Linked DNA regions of Homo sapiens: all the other regions are linked to region 1. The links are contacts of gene promoters, found by promoter capture Hi-C in blood cells and fetal thymus (Javierre and others, 2016). All regions are on one chromosome and are shown on one strand. The core of a region is centred on a gene start or on the middle of the fragment in contact, and the rest is flanking DNA. Distances in the headings are between cores, read along the strand shown.

What was found. Contacts are between HindIII fragments. The CHiCAGO score rates a contact against its expected background, and 5 or more counts as called.
Region 2: a fragment that was not itself captured here is called in contact with the fragment with the promoter of LEKR1 in region 1 in 7 of 17 cell types (non-activated CD4 T cells, naive CD8 T cells, activated CD4 T cells and 4 more); the score reaches 9.5 in non-activated CD4 T cells.
Region 3: a contact is called between a fragment that was not itself captured here and the fragment with the promoter of LEKR1 in region 1, in 2 of 17 cell types (activated CD4 T cells and naive CD4 T cells). The highest score is 6.0, in activated CD4 T cells.
Region 4: a contact is called between a fragment that was not itself captured here and the fragment with the promoter of LEKR1 in region 1, in 9 of 17 cell types (non-activated CD4 T cells, naive CD8 T cells, activated CD4 T cells and 6 more). The highest score is 12.8, in non-activated CD4 T cells.
Region 5: a contact is called between a fragment that was not itself captured here and the fragment with the promoter of LEKR1 in region 1, in 4 of 17 cell types (naive CD8 T cells, non-activated CD4 T cells, activated CD4 T cells and 1 more). The highest score is 6.9, in naive CD8 T cells.

The regions. Positions count from the first base shown.
Region 1 is chr3:156,824,746-156,828,905 of GRCh38, reverse strand. LEKR1 (leucine, glutamate and lysine rich 1) reads right to left here and starts at 2,553. Exons shown (of 13, transcript NM_001004316.3): 1 at 2,530-2,553. RefSeq lists a silencer at 1,412-1,706 and an enhancer at 2,021-2,080. The HindIII fragment of the contact is 11,302 bases long and covers 1-4,160 here.
Region 2 is chr3:157,118,064-157,121,841 of GRCh38, reverse strand. The region is part of intron 1 of LINC00880 (long intergenic non-protein coding RNA 880); the gene reads left to right. Among named protein-coding and RNA genes, the nearest start is that of LINC00880, 3.0 kb to the left of the region's middle. The HindIII fragment of the contact is 2,004 bases long and covers 931-2,934 here.
Region 3 is chr3:157,198,693-157,202,678 of GRCh38, reverse strand. All of the region lies in intron 2 of LOC101928236 (a long non-coding RNA gene), which reads right to left. Among named protein-coding and RNA genes, the nearest start is that of CCNL1, 41 kb to the right of the region's middle. RefSeq lists a silencer at 728-777. The HindIII fragment of the contact is 1,791 bases long and covers 880-2,670 here.
Region 4 is chr3:157,094,582-157,098,527 of GRCh38, reverse strand. All of the region lies in intron 3 of LINC00880 (long intergenic non-protein coding RNA 880), which reads left to right. The region is part of intron 1 of LINC00881 (long intergenic non-protein coding RNA 881); the gene reads right to left. Among named protein-coding and RNA genes, the nearest start is that of LINC00881, 6.7 kb to the right of the region's middle. The HindIII fragment of the contact is 6,225 bases long and covers 1-3,946 here.
Region 5 is chr3:156,511,104-156,514,881 of GRCh38, reverse strand. It overlaps KCNAB1 (potassium voltage-gated channel subfamily A regulatory beta subunit 1), which reads right to left. Exons shown (of 14, transcript NM_172160.3): 9 at 433-518. Among named protein-coding and RNA genes, the nearest start is that of SSR3, 42 kb to the left of the region's middle. The HindIII fragment of the contact is 2,017 bases long and covers 609-2,625 here.

The DNA of each region.
Region 1 (4,160 bases), core at 1,304-3,803:
GAAAATATAGTATTTTAGCAGATGAAAAAAGCAATTGTGGCATGAATGCTGGATTAAATGATGAAATACAGAAAAAGAGCATTTAGAGATACCATATTAAATATGATATGCAAACACTGAACAGAAGAGTGATCAAAAAATAAGAAGCCAAGTGCCAATTTTATCTAAGATGGACATTTATATAATTTTATGCAGATATTTTACTTTTAACAGATTTTCTTTTTCTAATAAAAGCCATTCAATATAAAGGTCAGTCACTACTTTCATAAAACCAGAGGATAAATGGAGGAGCACTTTGGGTTTTTTGTTTTTTTTTTTAAATCCTTCCCTCACGAGTAAGGGCTGTTTATACATATCTAAGAAGTCAGGAGAAGGGCGAGGGCAGTGGCAGCAGAGTCAGATGATACAGGCACAATTCCATAGCAGGGAAGAAGGCATAGACAAGAGCAGTCTAAGAGTTCAAGAAAGGAAAAGATCTTATGTTTCAGATGAGAGGTGGGAGTTAGTGAAGGCTTCCTGAGGTTGCTTGTATTCAATCAGGGCAGGATTTTGACAAGAGACTGGAGAAGCAAAGTACTCTATCAGAGAGAGCAACCCCGGCCATACAGCAAGGTAGCAGGGAAACCGTAGTTGTCAAAAAGTCCTATAGTGGCATTATCTTTGTAAATGGTGCAACCACTAGTGGAAGAGAAGATTCCTTGTTCCCTGTGTTAGCACAAAGACTCATTTCAGTGAGTTGCTGTTTAAAACCAAAAACTAATGAGCTTTATGTCTTCCCACATAAAACATAATATGACATGTGTGGTAAAGTTAACTGAGGTCTGCAATGGAGGTACCATTAACCATGTCAACATAAGCCCAAACATAATCTGATGTTTGGCAGATTGTCATAATCATGTGGCAAGAGCCCAGAAGGCTCATTATTCTCATTTCTGTCATTTAATGGTGGATTTGCCATCAGTAAAATGAAATAGTAACTTCAACTCTATTGGGAGAATTTTCCAAAAAATTACCATCTAAACATCCTTTTAAAATTTCACCCATAAAGTTATCTGAGAGCACGGATCTAAATGACAGTATAAACAAAGCACCAGTAGAACAGTTTTTGTGTAGTGCCTTCATTGTCTGTGAATCTATTCCAACTTTATGGCCTTAGCATAAGAAGGGGAGGAATTGGCAGGTTCTGATTATCGGGGGGAAACTAAAAATTAAAAGTCCTGCCAACCCAGAAAATGCTCCACAATGCAGAAAGACAACAATTTTATTAGGCATTCAACTAGACTTTGATGCACATCACGGCTAATCTGCTAATGAGGTTACAAAGAGAGAAGGAAATCCCTCTTTTATACAGCCAAGGAGACACAATCCATTACACATTCTCAAGGAAACTGGTAACGTGTCCTCATGTAAGAGGGCTTAACATAGTGTTCTATACATTCTTTTATATTTCCTCTTTAATTCATCTGGTAATTGGGGTAACCACCTGTGTTAGCTAACGGCTTTCCTCCTAAGTAATGCACAGCTCCATAACGAAACAGGTGTTTACAATTAGGAATAACGCACCTAGGTTAAACTCCCAAAGTGACAAGGAGACTGGGGCCCTATCTTCCTTGATGTTTACATTTTAAAGAAATGGCTTCCAGGTCCTCAAGAAAAGCATTCCTAGGTCTTTAAAAACATTTGCATACATATTAAATAGAGGAAGCATTCACAAATACTAAGTTTCTCAAGAAAAAAGAAGGGTCTTTCCCTTTTGGCAACAGGGAAAATCTGTAATTTTTTAAATTTAGTCTTACATAGTTTTGCGTGTGTTATCAAACAAGTCCCTTTAATCCTTTCTCATTGCACGTATGTGGACCGCACTTTGGCAAGAGGTGCAGTGATAAGTGGCTGCAGCTACGTGGGTGTTTGTGAACCTCCTCTCTAACAAGATCACCGAAAAGACATTTTTTAAAATGCAGACACGTCCTTGTTCGTTTCCAATTCCGTTTCTCACACTAGTGTCACGTCAGGCCATTAACTCACGTTCAGCTTTCAAGCCCTTACGTAAAGAACCATTCCCATGGCGTGAATCACCCACAACGAGCAGGTCAGGGGCAGGTGAAGGCGGGAGTTCACATCCTAAGACTTTCCTGAAGCGGCAGGCTCTTCCACACAGAAACCAACCGCAAGGCCAGACAAAACTGCTGGAATGGCTTTCAAATCTGTCCCTTTCTAACCCCGTTCCCCCTGGACCTGCAGTGGCCGGAAGAGGAGGAGGAGGAGGGTGCGGGGGTGAGGAAGCAGAGCCGCGCGTTCCCCGGGGCTGGGAGGAAGGCGGACCGCGCCTGGGCCCCGCGGGCTGGCAGACACCAGGAAGGGGCCGCAGAGGAGCGTGGTGGCGGAGTCCAGACCCGGGGCCTCGTGCTCTCGCTGGGGCGCCGCGGCTCAGCTTTCTGGCTCTCTCCCCGGGTGCGAGCACGCCTCCACTCCGGAACTGCATTTGGAGGACCGGGTCATCCCAGGCTGAGGAAAGCCATCGTCCCTCACCTCGACTTCGACTAGGACGGGTGTGAAACGGCTTTCCCGGTCTCCCGGGCGACCGCGCCGCCAGTCGGCTGGACGTCAGGGCGCGGCGACGTCACGGCCCACGTCTGTCGTCAACGCTCCCCTGCACCGCCCAGGGTCTCACGCGCCGGGCGGAAGTGGGAAAACTGGTGGTGGGGCTCGGAAGGCTGGGCTAGTCTTACGCGGAATGCTGTGAGAGGGAGGGAAGGGGATCGAGGGATGAGGTGGGCGAGAGTGGGTCGGGTGCTTGGTAGCGACTGCTGAGATGGAGGGAGCTGTCCCAGCCTCGTGGGGGGTTGGAGAGAGGCACTGCCGGGAGTCGGGAGTCGGGAGCCTATAGCCCTACCTATCACCCCTTGCTCTGGGGCCTATGTGGTAGACACAGCAGTGAGCAGTTACTGTTCTTGAGCAGAGGAAAAAGAGATGCCTGTAGAGGTCATGGGTGTAAAGGGAAGTTCTGGTTTCAGTCATTACAGCCAGGACAAATTAATTGGGAAGGCGTTGGTGACATTTCCATTCTAGTCCAAAGTAGTGAAGATTAAGGGCTTAGTTCAAAAAGTATTTTGAGACCTCCTAGTCTACACTTTATTTATCGCAGGCTACCCACCCTTACACGTGACTAACTTCCCTTTGTTCATACATTCATTCATAAAACAAGTATTTATAGACCTACTACGCGACAAGCAGAGCAGCATACCGAGATAGGGTGATACTCTGTGACTGGTCAAGGCAGGAGCAGCCATTGGTGTAATTAGCAGGTGACTCATTCGTAGTCCAGATCTTGCCTTTCTGAGGATTATATAAGGTCGAAGTACAGTTCTTCCAAGAACCAAAGAAAACATCGATGGCTCTGTAGCAGGCAAAGAGACTGGTTTGCTATTGAATAAAATAAGATTAAGTAAATACAAAGAAAATTAATTGAACCTATAGATTTAGAGAAGTGATTAAATGACGCAGAGCAGTATCGGTACACCAAACTGCTTATTGATAACTACTAATTAATGACACCAGGAAGTACTGAACACTAGTGCCTTGTTCCTTGGCACTAAAAAGTCTAGTAGATGTGGCTGGGCGCGGTGGCTCGGGCCTGTAATTCCAGCACTTTGGGAGGCCAAGGCGGGCAGATCACAAGGTCAGGAGATCGAGATCATCCTGGCTAACACGGTGAAACCCCGTCTCTACTAAAAATACAAAAAAGTAGCCGGGCGTGGTGGCGGGCGCCTGTAGTCCCAGCTACTTGGGCTACTCGGGAGGCTGAGGCAGGAGAATGGCGTGAACCTGGGAGGCAGAGCTTACCCTGAGCCGAGATAATGCCACTGCACTCCAGCCTGGGCGACAGACCAAGACTCAGTCTCAAAAAAAAAAAAAAAAAAAAAAGTCTAGTAGATGTATCTTGTACATTTAACCTGACTGATATTTTTGCCCCAATGCCTACCCTTGATTTTCTGTTTCCACTCCCTCAAAGAAGAAAGGATTAAGAGGCCTAGAGGACAGTCAACCAAGTGGTCAACTATAACATGCTTATGAGAAGCCCAAATAACTTTCAGAGCTATTCATCCTCGTCATATTTATCTGAGAGATAGTGAGGGTAGGACTGCTCTCATTTTGTGATA
Region 2 (3,778 bases), core at 683-3,182, 290 kb before region 1:
TAAGGAGGATCCTCAAAATTAAGTTCTGAGATTCCTAGGCAAAAAGAATAGTCCCATGCATTCCACAGCTTTCATTAACTGAAAAAAGAAAACATAGGCAAACTTCATTCTAGTACTAAAGTCCAAGTGGAAATTAGTTGCAAGGAATTTTTTATGTGAAGCAACATAATGAATATCTATGGCAATTTTACAGATAATTTAAAGCTGTTTTTCACCCGATCATTTCTTAAAATGACACTGGGTAAAGCTAAGGGGCATAATGCTAAATGATGTAAACAAACACTGTATTGAGTACCAAAGTGACTTAAGCCAGGAAGGGACTTCAGTGACTCCAGGGAGGAAAAAGTTTAGAGAACTGCAAAGTACCCTACATGCTATCCTTGCTGTTTTGGCAACATCTATACCCCTTTTAAAATGCAAAGATAAACTTTAAGAGCACCATTTAATAGCTCTTTAATGAAACTATGTTTAACCTGAGCAAGTTGTTGTGTATGCAAGATACTGGAAACGCCTTCTGTGGAAGGAAAGGCAAGTACAACTTTGTGCTTCTATTTGGATAAAAGGTTTTGAAGTGAAAGGCATTTGTGCAAATTACAAGCAGATTTTCAAGTCTAGAAAAACAAAAATCTCAACTGTGGATTAAGTTCTATTTTTTAACAAAAGTGAAATACTCTGCTTTAATTTCAGAAGTTAAAAAATCCTTTTTAACAACAGCAAAAAGGGGACCTGTTTTGAATTTAAAAGAAGTAGAGTGAGACAAGTTAGGAAAAAAAGAATTACCATTGCCTTTCTAAATTTATTATTATCATAATTGTCATTAAGTGTATTCGTCTTTCTTTAGGGTAAAGAGAGCTTTCCGATGGCCAAAATTTACTAGTCACTGAATTGTGTCCCAGGACACCCTTCAATAAAACTTGGCCTAAAGAAGCTTCAAGTTCCCTTCAAGTTCGAGGGCAGAGTCTGGGGTTCAGCCCAAGCCACTGGCATCCCTGAAGGGGCTGCAGGGCTCCTGACTCCAGGACCTCCTGGCATCCCGAATGCATGACCTCTCATGCCCGCCGCAGCACCTGCAATCTTGCCGGTGCTGCTTGGATTGCTGAGCAAACACTTGTTATTTGCGAAAGTACAAGGTTCAGTCTGTCAAACAGGGAAAACCAAACACCGAAGCACAGGAGCAGATAAGAGGGCCATGGTTGTGAGACCCACGCGGGCTCAGAGCGCGGCGGCGGGGCCCGGGCCTACCCGGCGCATGGGGGCTAAGGTGCAGCTAGGCAGGCCACGCGGCGCGGGCGGACGGCCTGGCCCGCGGAAACAGGCGCATAGGGCGGGAAAGTTCACCCGCCTTGCGGCGGCGACCGTTCTGGGTCGAACCGGCCATTGTAAGCCGCGCCGCTGGCGACCCGCCTGGGACCCCTTCGTGCCTTGGCCTTGGGGGGCCAAACACATCCCGAACGCCGTTCCCACCTTGCAGATTCTTGCAAGCTGCGGGTCCTACCTTGCTTCCCACGGGCTGATAACCCTGAACGTTCCCAGCGGGTAGAGGGCTTGCCACCTGCTGCTGAGCTGCGCTGCAGGCTTCCCCCGCCTCCTGCCGTAGGTCTAAGCCCAGAGACCAGAGGGGCCTTGGGCCTTGGCGCGCTGCCGCCGCCAGGGCACCGAGCGAGCCACTCTGCCTGACACTCATTTTTCTCTTCTGCAAAATGGGACTGACACCAACAATCACCTTCCTACCACCTCAGGGGGTTTTGAGGATCCCGTGAAATAACGGTGTGAAGATACTTTCAAAGTGGAAATCTCGGTTGTTACTAACTCATTTGTGAACCCCATTTTCTTCTTGATTTCTTCCTGACGTAGAATTGATCATCGTCACTGGGCTGTCTTAGCTACCCCTCCCTTGACTGTAATTTTAAATTTATCTGTGCATACCATTCCAAAAACAAACAAAAAAATCACGTGACCTGTGGTTTTATGTGTGAACAAAAGTTCTCTGAAAAGGAATTTAGAGGAAACAGACTTTATTACAATGAACAGTTTACAGACGAGGAAACATAGCCCTAAGTGTAAAATGAAGAGAACAAAGAGACAGTTTGGCGTTTACAGAGAAAATTCCTACCTGGGTTCCCAATCAGGTCCATTTATGCAAATGAACAATTCAAACTGGCTTGGTTCTGATTGATCAATGCAGCTGAGTCCTGATTGGTTGATGGGGAGCACAGCCTATTCCGTTGCTTCAGGCCACATGAGCGGTAACAGTCAGCTGTCAAAGCCCCAGTGTTAAGCCGACTGTGGGTTTTCCAGGAACTCAGAGTAGTGTGTAATCTCTAGTCAGTAAATGGCCGTTTGGCTCTATATTAAATTTATGTAGCCACTCAGGATTCATCTTGAGGGACTGGCTCTTTCAGATTCACTCATGTTTCAACTCTGCTGTTTATAAGTCCTCTATCTGTGTATACAGGCCTAGAGGTCCCAGGGCCGGATATAAAATTTCTCTGGACAGGGCCTGCTCCATAACCACCTTCACATGCTGTTCTTCAAACATATAGAATTGGGTTGATAGTGGAAACAATTTCAGGTACTTTAACCCAATTCTAAATATTCTAAATTTTAGGTATTTTAACCTTGGAATAATATAATTTTTTCTTCTTTTTTCTGTGTATAAAAAGACGTACATAGTTGATATGACACTATGTAATGTAACTCATAGATCACTATGTAATTTTGTACCTGCATTCATTCAGCATTTTAACATGAATTAATATTAATATTTTTCCATGTTAACTCTCTATGTAAAAACCATTTGCAATAAGCATTTTTCCATTTAGTAAGCTACCTCATATTTTATTAAATTGTTTTTCTACTGTTACACATAAGAGTTTTCTCCAGTTTTCCACTATAATAAATAATACTGCAGTGAACATCTTTCTTCCCAAAGCTTTTTTTGTTCTTTTTTTTCCTTGCTTTTGGTTTACCTCCTTAAAAGAATTCTGGGTCAAAGGTTATGAACATTTTTCAAAAGACCTTTGTTGTCATGATGGCAGAGAGGCAGCACTAAAATAGTTTGGAGCAATAGGGATTTCACCAAAATAGCTATGATTGATATCTGGAAAGAAAGACAGAGAAAATAATGGCATGGGAATCTTTCTAGAGTTTTAGGGCCTTGTTCTGATTTAAAAAAAAAAAAATATATATATATATATATATATATATATATGAAAGGAAAATAAATCTTCGGGCCCCCAAATCACTAAGGGAATAATCAAGCTGGGAACTGCTTAGGGCAAACCTGCTTCCCATTCTATTCAAAGTCACCCCTCTGCTCACTGAGATAAATGCATATCTGATTGCCTCCTTTGGAAAGGCTAATCAGAAACTCACAAGAATGAACCGTTTGTCTCTCAAGTATCTGTGACCTGGAAGCTCCCTCCCAGCTTCAAGTTGTGCCGCCTTTCCAGACAGAACCAATGTACAGCTTATATATATTGATTGACGTCTCATGTCTTCCTAAAATGTATAAAACCAAGCTGTGTTCTGACCAACTTGGACACATGTCATCAGGACCTCCTGAGGCTGTGTCATGGGCATGCATCCTCAACCTTGGCAAAATAAACTTTCTAAATTAACTGAGATCTGTCTCAGATATTTGGGGTTCACATATATATGAATATATGAAATAATTGTATATCTTAGAGTCCCATTCCTGGAAGTTTAAACAGCTGTACTCATAGCCCACACTTAAGTAGAAAGTTGGGAGAATATCTGACAGTATGGGTGACAACTG
Region 3 (3,986 bases), core at 526-3,025, 370 kb before region 1:
CTCTCAAGGCCACTATTATTATAATCATACTAATGTGCTTGTGCATGGCACTTACTTATGGACAAATGATATGTCTCTCTCACAGCTACTTCATTTGCTAAGACTGAAGCCTGATCCTTTAAATCCTCTGTCTATCAATGATTAAAATACGGTCCTATATTAGCTTCCTAACATTACATATATGCTTTAATTTTTCAATGGCAAAATAGTAAATTATAACTATGGGTGCTATTTGGGTTTTTTGTTTGGTTGGTTGGTTGGTTGGTTTTGAGACAAGGTCTCGCTCTGTCACCCAGGTTGGAGTGCCGTGGTGCAATGTCGGCTCACTGCAAACTCTGCCTCCTGGCTTTAAGTGATTCTCCCACCTCAACCTCCCCGAGGAGCTGGGACTACAGGCATGCACCACCATGCCTGGTAATTTTTTGTATTTTTAGTAGATATGGGATTTCACCATGTTGGTTAGGATGGTCTTGAGCTCCTGGCTTCAAGTGATCCACCTGCCTCGGCCTCCCAAAGTACTGGGATTACAGGTGTGAGCCACTGTGCCCAGCTTACGGGTACTATTTGATGGCATACTAGTCAAACCAAGCAACAACTCTGTTTTATAGCCATATAAGCAGATGACCCTGGAATAAAAGCTGGGACTTACGCACATTTCAAGCTGTTAAACATTTTTTATCATATTCCAATTTCGTTTCACTCTGAAAGCAGAAGTGGCTATCATATGATTGACTCAAAACTATTTGGTATATCACCCTAAGATAAATACCAGAAGGCACCAAAACTGTTTTGAATGAGGACTAAAGATGACATTTGGCCACTAGATGGCATTTAAATTATGTAGCAGGCTTTAGCTCACACTTCAGCTATTTAAAAGCTTAATTGGTTTGCATTTAGCCCAAGCACTGGCGATTCATGTATTTTCATGCTGTGGGAATTCTCGGAAGTTGGCTGAATTGAGACTTAGGAATATCCACAGCAGGTTTTACAGTGACAGACATAAAATCCTTTTGGAGTTATGAAATGAGATTAGCAATTTTAAATTCTTGCCTGAAATCTTCAGATCAGTTTTTTTCTTTTTGGAAGTAAATTATTGAGGGTAATATTGAGAGACTGGATAACTTACATCTTTTCAATCCATTTCTGTGCAACATGAAGTCTTAATAAGCACAGAGCAGCATAATTCATGGGCAGCTTGTCTCAGTTGGCCACGGGTACCTCTCAGCGTCTACCTTTTTACTGGGTCCAGCAATCTAATCATATCTACCATTTCCTTTTCAATTAATTCCTAGGAAAGACCAGCCGTGGACTAGTACAACATCCCAGAGGCGAACAGAATCAAATCTAATCCCCACTGAATAATAATTTGTTAAAAAACTGCTATAAAGAAGGGAGAACAGTCCAGTCAGTTATTGTTTTTCATTTCCCACAAGGAAATTAACGGTAAAACATGTTAAATTTCAACTGTAAGATTTTAAGGTAGCCATGAAGATGAAATGAAATAGATACTAAAGTAAACCACAAAATAAATGTGCATGTGTGTTCTTTCCATATAGTAGAAGAGATACTCTTCTATTTGGCGAGATTTTGCAGAGACACCAAGAATATAGTAAGTGATGCTTTCTAACTCTTTTTGTAGGTTTCAGGGGGCTTTCTTTTGGTCAAAGCCTATGGTGCTGAATTCAGCTTGTCCACTAGGCAACCCTAATATATGCTAAGTATCCTTTAACTAGTCAAGCATTTATTCCCATGATAAAATAAACTATGATGTATTTAATTATACATGTCATTGAAGAAGTCCTCTTTTAAAGAAAAACCATGAAGTGATTACCTGAAAAGCATAATAACAAATTGATTACCTAATAAGATGGAAAACTGAACATGAGCTTTTGTCTCCACTCCATTCCAACGCTCTCTCAAAAGATAGAAGAGGAAAGTAAAAGTTATAAATCCACACAGAAATAAAGAGTGGAAGAAGAGCCGGGCGCGGTGGCTCATGCCTGTAATCCCAGCACTTTGGAGGCCGAGGCGGGTGGATCACGAGGTCAGGAGATCGAGACCATCCTGGCTAACACAGTGAAACCCTGCCTCTACTAAAAATGCAAAAAATTAGCTGGGCGTGGTGGCACACGCCTGTACTCCCAGCTACTTGGGAGACTGAGGCAGGAGAATCACTTGAACCCGGGAGGTGGAGGTTGCAATGAGCCGAGATCATGCCACTGCACTCCAGCCTGGCAACAGAGCAAGACTCTGTCTCAAAAAAAAAAAAAAAGAGTGGAAGAAGAAAACAACAGCAGACCAGATCACAGTTTCAGGAGGTTGGCAGCCACTGGCTGAGTGGGACTGACTAGGAAAACACTGAAACCCACACAACAACAGAGGGGAGACCAGCAAGAAGCCAGCCTACCTCACCTCAGAACCCTGGGAGTCAGACATCAAAAGTTCTTCCAGGTGCCTGGAAAAGTAGGAGCCAGGGTGAACTGAAAAGAGAATAAAAATTGGGGTAATCTGCATACTGGCCTGCAAGACCTCCCAGCCTTTTTCCCCTTCATTTCCCAGAAATCTGCTCCCTACAAAACTGGCGATGAAAAGATCCTACTATGACACTAACATTTGGCAAGGCTGCCAGAAATTGGCTCGCTCCTTGCTTGCTAATCCTCCAGGGAAGCTTACTATTCACCAGGCTTTCCCACTTCCCACCACAATCAGCTTTCCATCCTCAGTCTTAAATATAAACAGACAACCAAAGATCAACGACATTATAGGAAAGCCTCCAACTTTCCTATATAGGAAAGCCTCCAACTTTCCTATATAGGAAAGCCTCCAACTTTCCTATATAGGAAAGCCTCCAACTTTCCTATATAGGAAAGCCTCCAACTTTCCTATATAGGAAAGCCTCTTGGTATAAGAGGCATATACCAAGGCAAAAAAATGTGGATGGGGGAACTTAGAGGAACCAGAGACAAAAGAAGAAAATTTCAAAGAAACTGCAATTAGTATCCTCTGAAAAAGAAGAAAAGCTGTTGGACCCATGAAACATTAAAAAGGTGCTATCAGGAAGGGTTTGTTGTTGTTTTTGTTGTTTTAGAGACAAGGTCTTGCTATGTTTCCCAGCCTGGCCTTGAATTCCTAGGCTCAAGAGATCTTCTGAGCCTCCTGAGTAGCTTGGACTACAGGCATGTGCCACTGTGCCCAGGTTTTTGTTGTTGTTTGTTTGTTTTGTTTTGTTTTGTTTCATTTTGTTTTGTTTCATTTTGTTTTGCTTTTTTGAGACGGAGTCTCACTCTGTCGCCCAGGCTGGAGTTCAGTGGTGCAATCTCGGCTCACTACAACCTCCGCCTCACGGGTTCAAGTGATTCTTCTGGCTCAGCCTTCCAAGTAGCTGGGACTACAGGCACGCACCACCACGCCTGGCTAATTTTTGTATTTTTAGTAGAGATGGGGTTTCACCATATTGGCCAGGCTAGTCTGGAACTCCTGACCTTATGATCCACCCGCCTTGGCCTCCCAAAGTGCTGGGATTACAGGTGTGAGCCACCACGCCCAGGCTTTTTTTAAAAAAAAAAAAAAAAAAAAAAACAAAAGAAACAGAGAATGAGAAGGAACTCTTGGAAATTAAAAATATAACAAGAATGAAAACTTCAGTAGAAAGATTAGAAGACAGCTGGGTATGGTGGTTTATACCTATAATCCCAACAGTTTGGGAGGCCAAGGCAGGTAGATTGCTCAAGCCCAGGAGTTTGAGACCAGACTGGGCAACATGGCAAAATACAGTTTCTACAAAAAAGACAAAAATTAGCCAGATGTGGTGGCACACGTCTGTAGTCCCAACTACTTGGGAGGCTGAGGTGGGAGGATCACCTGAGCCCAGAAGGCAGAGGTTGCAGTGAGCTGAGATTGCACCACTGCACTCCAGCCTGGGCCAGGCCACAGAGTTAGACAGTGTCTAAAAAAAAAAAAAAAAAAAAAAAAAAAAAAAAAAAAAA
Region 4 (3,946 bases), core at 420-2,919, 270 kb before region 1:
GGAAAGGTCAGTAGAAATGCTCTGTGAAATGTGAAAAGGTGGGTGCCAGCTCAAGGGGTGCCAGGTGAGGTCCCACTGGAAACCTGCCTCCTCCATCCCTGCCTCCCTGTCCTCAGCAGCACCCTTTCATTTTCTAGTTAGATCGGCTCAGGTCCCAGCTGACTCCTTCTGGATGTCCAGCCACAGACATTTGTCTTTGTCTCCAGCACTTTGAGTCAGAACCACAGGTTTTCGTATTTGCTGTGGTTTTTTTTTTTTTCTGTCATTATTGTATTTGTTTTGGTCTTAGTTTTCTACCAGACTTTAATGGAAAGAGACCAGGTTTGAGTCCAGCTGCACCCCTTATTAGCTGGGTTATTAAGGACAAGTCACTTCACCTCTTTGAAATGCAATCTTCTGATTTATATGTGGGGATCCTACATTATTAAGTTGTTGCAAGAGCTAACGTGACTAAAATTCACATTGAAGTATTTTGTAAACTGTAAAGTGCTGAGAAGAAAAGATAATTTCAAACCCCTCTTAGCATGTATACTTTACTGGAACATATACATGCTCAAAGATATGTGTTAAGTTACTTTTTGATTAAAGATATTTGCTACAAGAATGTTGTCCAATCCCCAAACACACCAGGAGATGTTCTGAGCATTCTGCAATGGTTCCAGTGGGTTCCCTGGATGGTTTGTGAGGGAATTTGCCATTTACTGTGTATTTGCCATGTCCAGGCTCATGCTTGGGAACATCCTGTTTGATTCCCATGAGGTAGGTATTAGCCAAGTTTCCCCCACCAGGTGTGATGGTTAATTTTGTGTCGACCACACTGGGTTAAGGGGCATCCAGATAGATGATAAAACAATATTTCTGGGTTGTCTGTGAGGGTGTTTCTGGAAGACATTAGCATTTGAATCAGTGGACTAAGTATAGATCACCCCCACCAATGCAGGTGGGCAGCATCCAACTGGCCCTCAGCCTCCACAAAAATGTGGAGGAAAGGTGAATTTGCTCTCCCTTCTGGAGCCAGGACGTTATCTTCTTTCGCTTCCAACACCAGAATTCAAGGTTCTTGGGCCTTCCAACTCTGGGACTTACATAAGCTGCATTCTCTACATAAGCTGTCACCTGCGTTCTCAGACCTTGGGCCTCTGACTGGGAGTTACAGCATCGGCTCCCCTGGTTCTGGGGCTTTCAGTATCAGACTGAATTATACCCCCACCTGTCCTGGTTCTCCAGCTTGCAGACTGCATAACATGGAATTTCTCGAGCCAATTGCATGAGCCAATTCCCGTAATAGATCCCCTTCTACATATCTGTATATGTCCTATTGGTTCTGTTTCTCTAGAGAACCCTGTGTGATACACTACGCATGCACAAATAAAGTCACATCAAGACTAATAATCTAAATGTTAGTTTGTTACCACCATTTCTCACTTTGAACCTAGCTCCCTGCAAAGCACCTTCTACCCTGCACTTTTGGGGAGTTCCTGGGGTAGGAGGTCTTACATGTGCTCATCAGCAAATCAATGCCCAGGCACTGTCCCTTACTCTGCTCTGCCATCTCACTCTGGTAAAGTTGCTCTGTGGATTGTCAGGTGGAAAAGTTGCCTTTTTCTCTCTTATGTTCATTTATAGGAGTTTCATCTCAGTGACCCTGTACTCCAGTGTCTTATGAAGCACTAACAAATAGTCCCTTTAGCTTTTAGTGACAACTCTGCCCAGGAATGAGACATGGGTCTGATATGGGGTAGGGTGAAGGATGGGGTTCCGCCCCTGTTACCACAGTGTACTCAAAACTACTCCTTTCTCCAGTATGATGCTTCACCTTTTGGTGAGCCCACTGTGCGCAGCTCCCTGCATTTCCTCAAGAAGGGAGTTTTCCCAGATCCCTGTAGGGTTTCCCTGCTAGTCCACTAGATGTGACGGAATCCTAGCACAGACTCCAGATTGCACATTCCCACTATACAGATGAGGAAACGAAGGCTCAGAGGGTAAAGAAACTTACCCAAGGTCACACACTGAACAGGTGACAGTCAAGAGCCAAACTCAAAGTCCAAATCCCACATTCTTTCTGACCAAAATCCTGTGATCAAAGTGGCAACATGACACGTTGTTGTGACCCTGGTATTCATACAGGAGGGCAAACTGCGCTGGTCACTCTTTACTAGACATGCTTTTCTCCTCCCCAGGGGTTTGTTTAAGTCTGTTTCTGCTTGGTTTCCACTGAGAATTATACTCTGGGCACGAAAAACGGGGATTCCTTGCCATTTCACCTTCCTTCCCATTCCTAGCTGCCCTCCCAGGGAACTGACAGTTTATTTCATTGTTATTTGGCTTATGGTTAAAAGAACTGTGGTGGGGCCAGGCACGGGTGGCTCATACCTATAATCCCAGAACTTTGGGAGGCCAGGGAGGGCAGATCACAAGGTCAGGAGTTCGAGACTAGCCTGGCCAATATGGTGAAACCCCATCTTTACTAAAAATACAAAAATTAGCCAGGTGTGATGGCGCACGCCTGTAGTCCCAACTACTCGGGAGGCTGAGCCAGAAGAATCGCTTGAACCAGGGAGCTGGAAGTTGCAGTGAGTGGAGATCATGCCACTGCATTCCAGCCTGGGTGACAGAGTGAGACTCCATCCCACCCACCCCCCCTCCAAAGAAAAAGGAAAAGAAAAGAACTGTGGTGCTTACACAGATGACAGAACAAGCAAGTCCTGGCTACTGCAAAGATACACCTGAGCCAGTGTTAGTAGATCTGAGAAAAACACATATTCCTTGACTTGATTCCAAAGCCCCTGTAACCTGGTCATCCTATACCAACCCTCTGTTCCAGCCTAAAGGTCTACACATGACCCTAAGTTCTCTTTTCTCCCCTCCCAGCTGTAGCCTGATGCCCATGAAAGATGGGGCCTGTACCCCATGTGCTCACTCCTCCTAGCCCATTCCAGCGATGTGGCATCTATGCTCCATTCTGATTCTCTTGGTCAGGGCCTTGACCTTCTCTCTTGGCCTTGCCAAATCTTTCCTTTAGGGAGCTGGATGCTCTTCTTCCCCAGAAGACATTGCCTGGGGACCTGACTACATCTAAACAAACCTTCTCATCATTTCCAGAACAAAGGACTGTTACCTTCCCAGGCATGCCCTCTCGACTGCTTCAGACTCTGGCTGTACCAGCTCCACTCACCACATAATAAAACTCTTGGGGTATGAAGGAGGATGCACACCACCCTGTCTTGGCTCCAACTGGCCACTTCCTGGAAACTCTGGGATTAGGTGGCTGGCCACTTTCTTTGCAGGGCTCCTAATGTGTCACCAGCCACAGTTGTTGGTGCTTAGGTAACTGAGGGAGCTGTCTTCAGTTCAGACTTCTTAAAGACCCCATTTCATGTTACATAACCCTCAACCTATAATCCCTGCTTTCCCATTTCCTGTTTCCTTTCTCTCCATAGCATTAATCAGCATTTTGATACACAATATATAGCAAAACGTATAGCTTACTTTAGGAGTAAGCTCCTTGAGGTTTTAGTCTGCTTTGCTTGAGCAGTGTCTGGTAGGTGCTCAGTGACTGCCTGCTGAATGCATGACTGGAATGACCACGACCTTGAACATCAGCACCAGAGTACACATACCGAGGTGTTGGGAGGACCAGGAATTCTTGTTCTCTTCTGTCACAGGGCTCAGCTGTCAAAGATTTCCAAACCTCCTCCATCTTAGCCACAGCAATAAAGGGTCTACAAGTTCATTCTCGGCACTGCACTGGGCACCATGGGAAATGCAAACCCTTCAGGCAGCTTAGTATCCCAGCTTGTCTCTGAGCCATCACCCCCGGAAAACGAACTGTTCCTCTTGCAAGCCCTCATTATGCCCTTATACCCGCAGCATAGAGCTCTGTGTTCTCCATCTGTCTCCATTCTTCCCAGACATGAGCCTGTCTCACTCATCTTCACATCCCCAG
Region 5 (3,778 bases), core at 368-2,867, 310 kb after region 1:
TTAAGTCCAGAGCAAATTAGTCAAGGTGTGAATTGTACACTACGATAAAGAAAATGTAGTTTAACTATTTTTAAGTTCCTAAAGAAATAAGACTTAGACTAACATATAAAAGTATCTGTAATTAGCTTGGTATAAACAGTATAGTTAATACAGTTTTTTATAAGAAAACTAGAATACTCTGTTAATATATCTCATTAGCTGTGAAATTCACTTTACCCTCTTGCCACCAAAGAACACTGTATTCTCTGTTGTATTCTGAACGGATGAGCTCCGGCTCCAATATCCATCTCTGTAATGATGGAATTGATTCTAGAATTCCAGTGCCATAGTGATTGTGAGAAAAGTTTGCAAAAGATCTTGCAATTTATGCATGGCATCTGAAAAGCAATAATAAGGTACTCAATAGCCATTTAAAAATAGAAGTTAAATTACCATGATCTCCATAGCACTCCATCTCGAGGTGCCCCAGTACATCGCCATGCCTTGGTTTATCACATGTGTCATGGCTCGGACAATTTCTGTGGAAGGTCAAACAGACAGCATTTCATGAATTTGTCTACTTTTCAAAGTTATGCGATTTTTACTCCTCTAGCCAAAGCTTAGAAGCTTAATGCAATTGTTTGTTTGATTAATAAAATTAGCCTAATATTGGTGACAACATTATAGTCTGACAGGAAATATTGATGGTTTGAAGGCTGATGGTACCTTTGGGCAAACTGACATTCCATTTTCCATTTGCAGCAACAACACTAAATGATATTGAAAATATAATGACCATTTTAAGTTCTTCCTTTACTTTTATTGCTTGATGATTCCTGGCCTAATAAAGAATACATGATTTACCTTTTTAAGAGCCTGAGTACCTTCCCGACTAAAGTGAGAAGTAAGAGAAGGCATTTGTTTCAACTTTGTAGAATGTAAGGTCATTGAAGGTGAAAGGCTTGTCTTTGTATATTGGACTTGCAGAGCTGGACCTCACACAGAATGGGTCTCTAAGAGAGGTGACTCAACAACAATGTGTTTAGCAGAAAGATAAACATATTAAATGCTGAACAAACAGCCGAAGTCACCGTGGCTCACAGCTTGCAATGACACACCCTGTCCTTGATCACTTTGAACCAAATTTTGTCCTAAGACACCCACATAATTGATTTCACTGGGGCCTGTTTGTGGTCCCACCCAGCGTGCTCATCAGCCTCATGGAGCTCGACATCACATTTCCTAAACAGGAAAATGAATCCCTTCCCCAGAGGATGGAGCTGAGCAAATCCTCTTGGCACCAGCCAGATGTGCTGCAGAACAAGAGAGCATGGAGACCCTCAAGTTTAACTTAGTTAAAATTCACAGACAGGGTTGGATTTCTTCTACAAAGCAGGTCAGTGTTTAACAGGATGCCAGGTCACTCGACAGTTTCAAAGGGTCACAGGCCTTGGGATTTTTTATTTCTCAGTAATACCAGTCAGTTAAATGCCCTTCAGAAGAACCAAATCCTTGTCTCAAAGTAGAGTTGCAGTAGATGTATTTTTTTATTATTATTATTATTTCTCATGAGCAGGCACTGTCTAGATTGATACGGAACAGGATTTGGAATGAAATGGCCAGAGTCAGGGTCTTAGCTTCTTTGCTTGTTTGGCTGGTGTAAACTTTTTTGTTGTTGTTGTTTTTTTTTTGAGATGGAGTCTTGCCCTTTGGCCCAGGCTGGAGTGCAGTGGCAAGATCTCGGCTCCCTGCAGGCTCCGCCTCCCGGGTTCATGCCATTCTCCTGCCTCAGCCTCCCGAGTAGCTGGGACTACAGGTGCCCGCCACCACACCCGGCTAACTTTTTGTATTTTTGGTAGAGACAGGGTTTCACCGTGTTAGCCAGGATGGTCTCGATCTCCTGACCTCGTGATCCTCCCACCTCGGCCTCCCAAAGTACTGGGATTACAGGCGTGAGCCACTGCTCCCGTCCTTCTGTAAACTATTTTTAATTGCCCTTGATTTCTTTTTTGGAAGATGGAAATGCTTTCATTCACCATTGTGTGTCCAACAGAGGTAAAAGCTGGCTTATAAGCAAAATAGTTTTCTTTTTCTTGGAGAAAGACTCTAGAATATCAAATTATTGCCTAGCAACTAAAACTATGAAGTTCATTCTCCATTTATAAAACATATGATTAAAAAAGTGTAAGGAACCGCTTTTCTTCTCTTTCATTATACAAATGGAGATGCGTGCCTATGATAAACAGTTCCAGAAGTTGAAAACAATGATATGAATCTCTGCCCCAGATAGATTCTGTCTTTAGATGTCTCCATCACTGCACCAGCTCCCTTTCCCTTCACATCCTGTGTCATTCAGAGCTGGGAGTTCAGCCAATCAACAGTATCTACTAGGTGTCTGCTGTTCTGGGTGCTGGAGATACTGTGGTGAATCAAACATGCTGATAAACACAGAAGAGGTTAACAGAGAATAAACTGGACCTGGCCTCTCCCTTAACTCTGTCTCTGCCATCAAGTAAGACAGGCACAGAATGCTGACAGGTGGCTTGGGCACGTGGGAGTCCTTGACAAAAGCAGTGAAGATGGAGTGGAAGTTGTGACTCTTCCTGCACATGCATTTAATTATACAACACACAAGTATTAAAAGCTTAATGTTTGCCAGTCACTGTGCTGGTTGCTGGATTCTTCTGTGAGTAAAACAGACACAAATTTCCTGGACTCAGGGAGTTTCAAGTTGAGTGAGAGATGGAGGGGTAAACAAGTAAGTCATTATAAAATGTAAAGTGTTATAAAGAAAATAACACAGGGGACTGGGACAGGAAATGAAAGAGAAGACATATTTAGTGCAGTAAGGAAGGTCTCACTGAAGAGCAATCATGTTTAGGCATAAAAAAGAAAAAAGGAACCATCCTTGTGAAGAACAGTGGAAGAGCATTCGAGGCAGATGATGTAGTATGCGCCTAGGCCCTGAGGAAGGACAGAGCTTAGTGAGTCCCAGCAATGGGAGGGAAGGAGGACAGGGGTATGAGATGAAGTTGGCAGAGGGCAAACCATGTCATTTGTATGTTATTCAAGGTTTAATCAAGGCATTAACATTTTATCAGGTAAGGGGATGGTAGAATATAGTTTGCATTTCAGAACAGTCTCTGTGCTGTGGAGAATCATTAGTAACAGGGAGGACTGGAGGAAGTAGAAAGAGCTTGAGGAAGGTATTGTTGTATTCTAGGCAGGAGATGAGGGTGATTTGTAATAGGGTGATGATGGCAAACAGAGAGAGTGGTGGATGGATTCAAAATAGATGTTGAAGGCAGAATCCACAATACTTACAGATGGACTGAGTGTGGTCAGGGAAAGGGAGGAATTAAAGCTGTTTCCCAGATATCTGGCTGTTTACAGAGATAAGGGAGACTGAAGGAAGAACAGGTTTGGGAGAAAAATCGAGGGTTCTTCTTTGGACATGTGAAAAATGGAGATGCATGTGAGATACTAAAAGGGAGATGACGGGCGGGGCACGGTGGCTCACACCTGTAATCCCAGCACTTTGGGAGGCCGAGGCGGGTGGATCACGAGGTCAGGAGATCGAGACCATCCTGGCTAACACGGTGAAACCCCGTCTCTACTAAAAATACAGAAAATTAGCCGGGCGTGGTGGCGGGTGCCTGTAGTCCCAGCTACTCGGGAGGCTGAGGCAAGAGAATGGCATGAACCTGGGAGGTGGAGCTCGCAGTAAGCCGAGATCACGCCACTGCACTCCAGCATGGGGGACAGAGCAAGACTCCGTCTCAAAAAAAATAAAAAATAA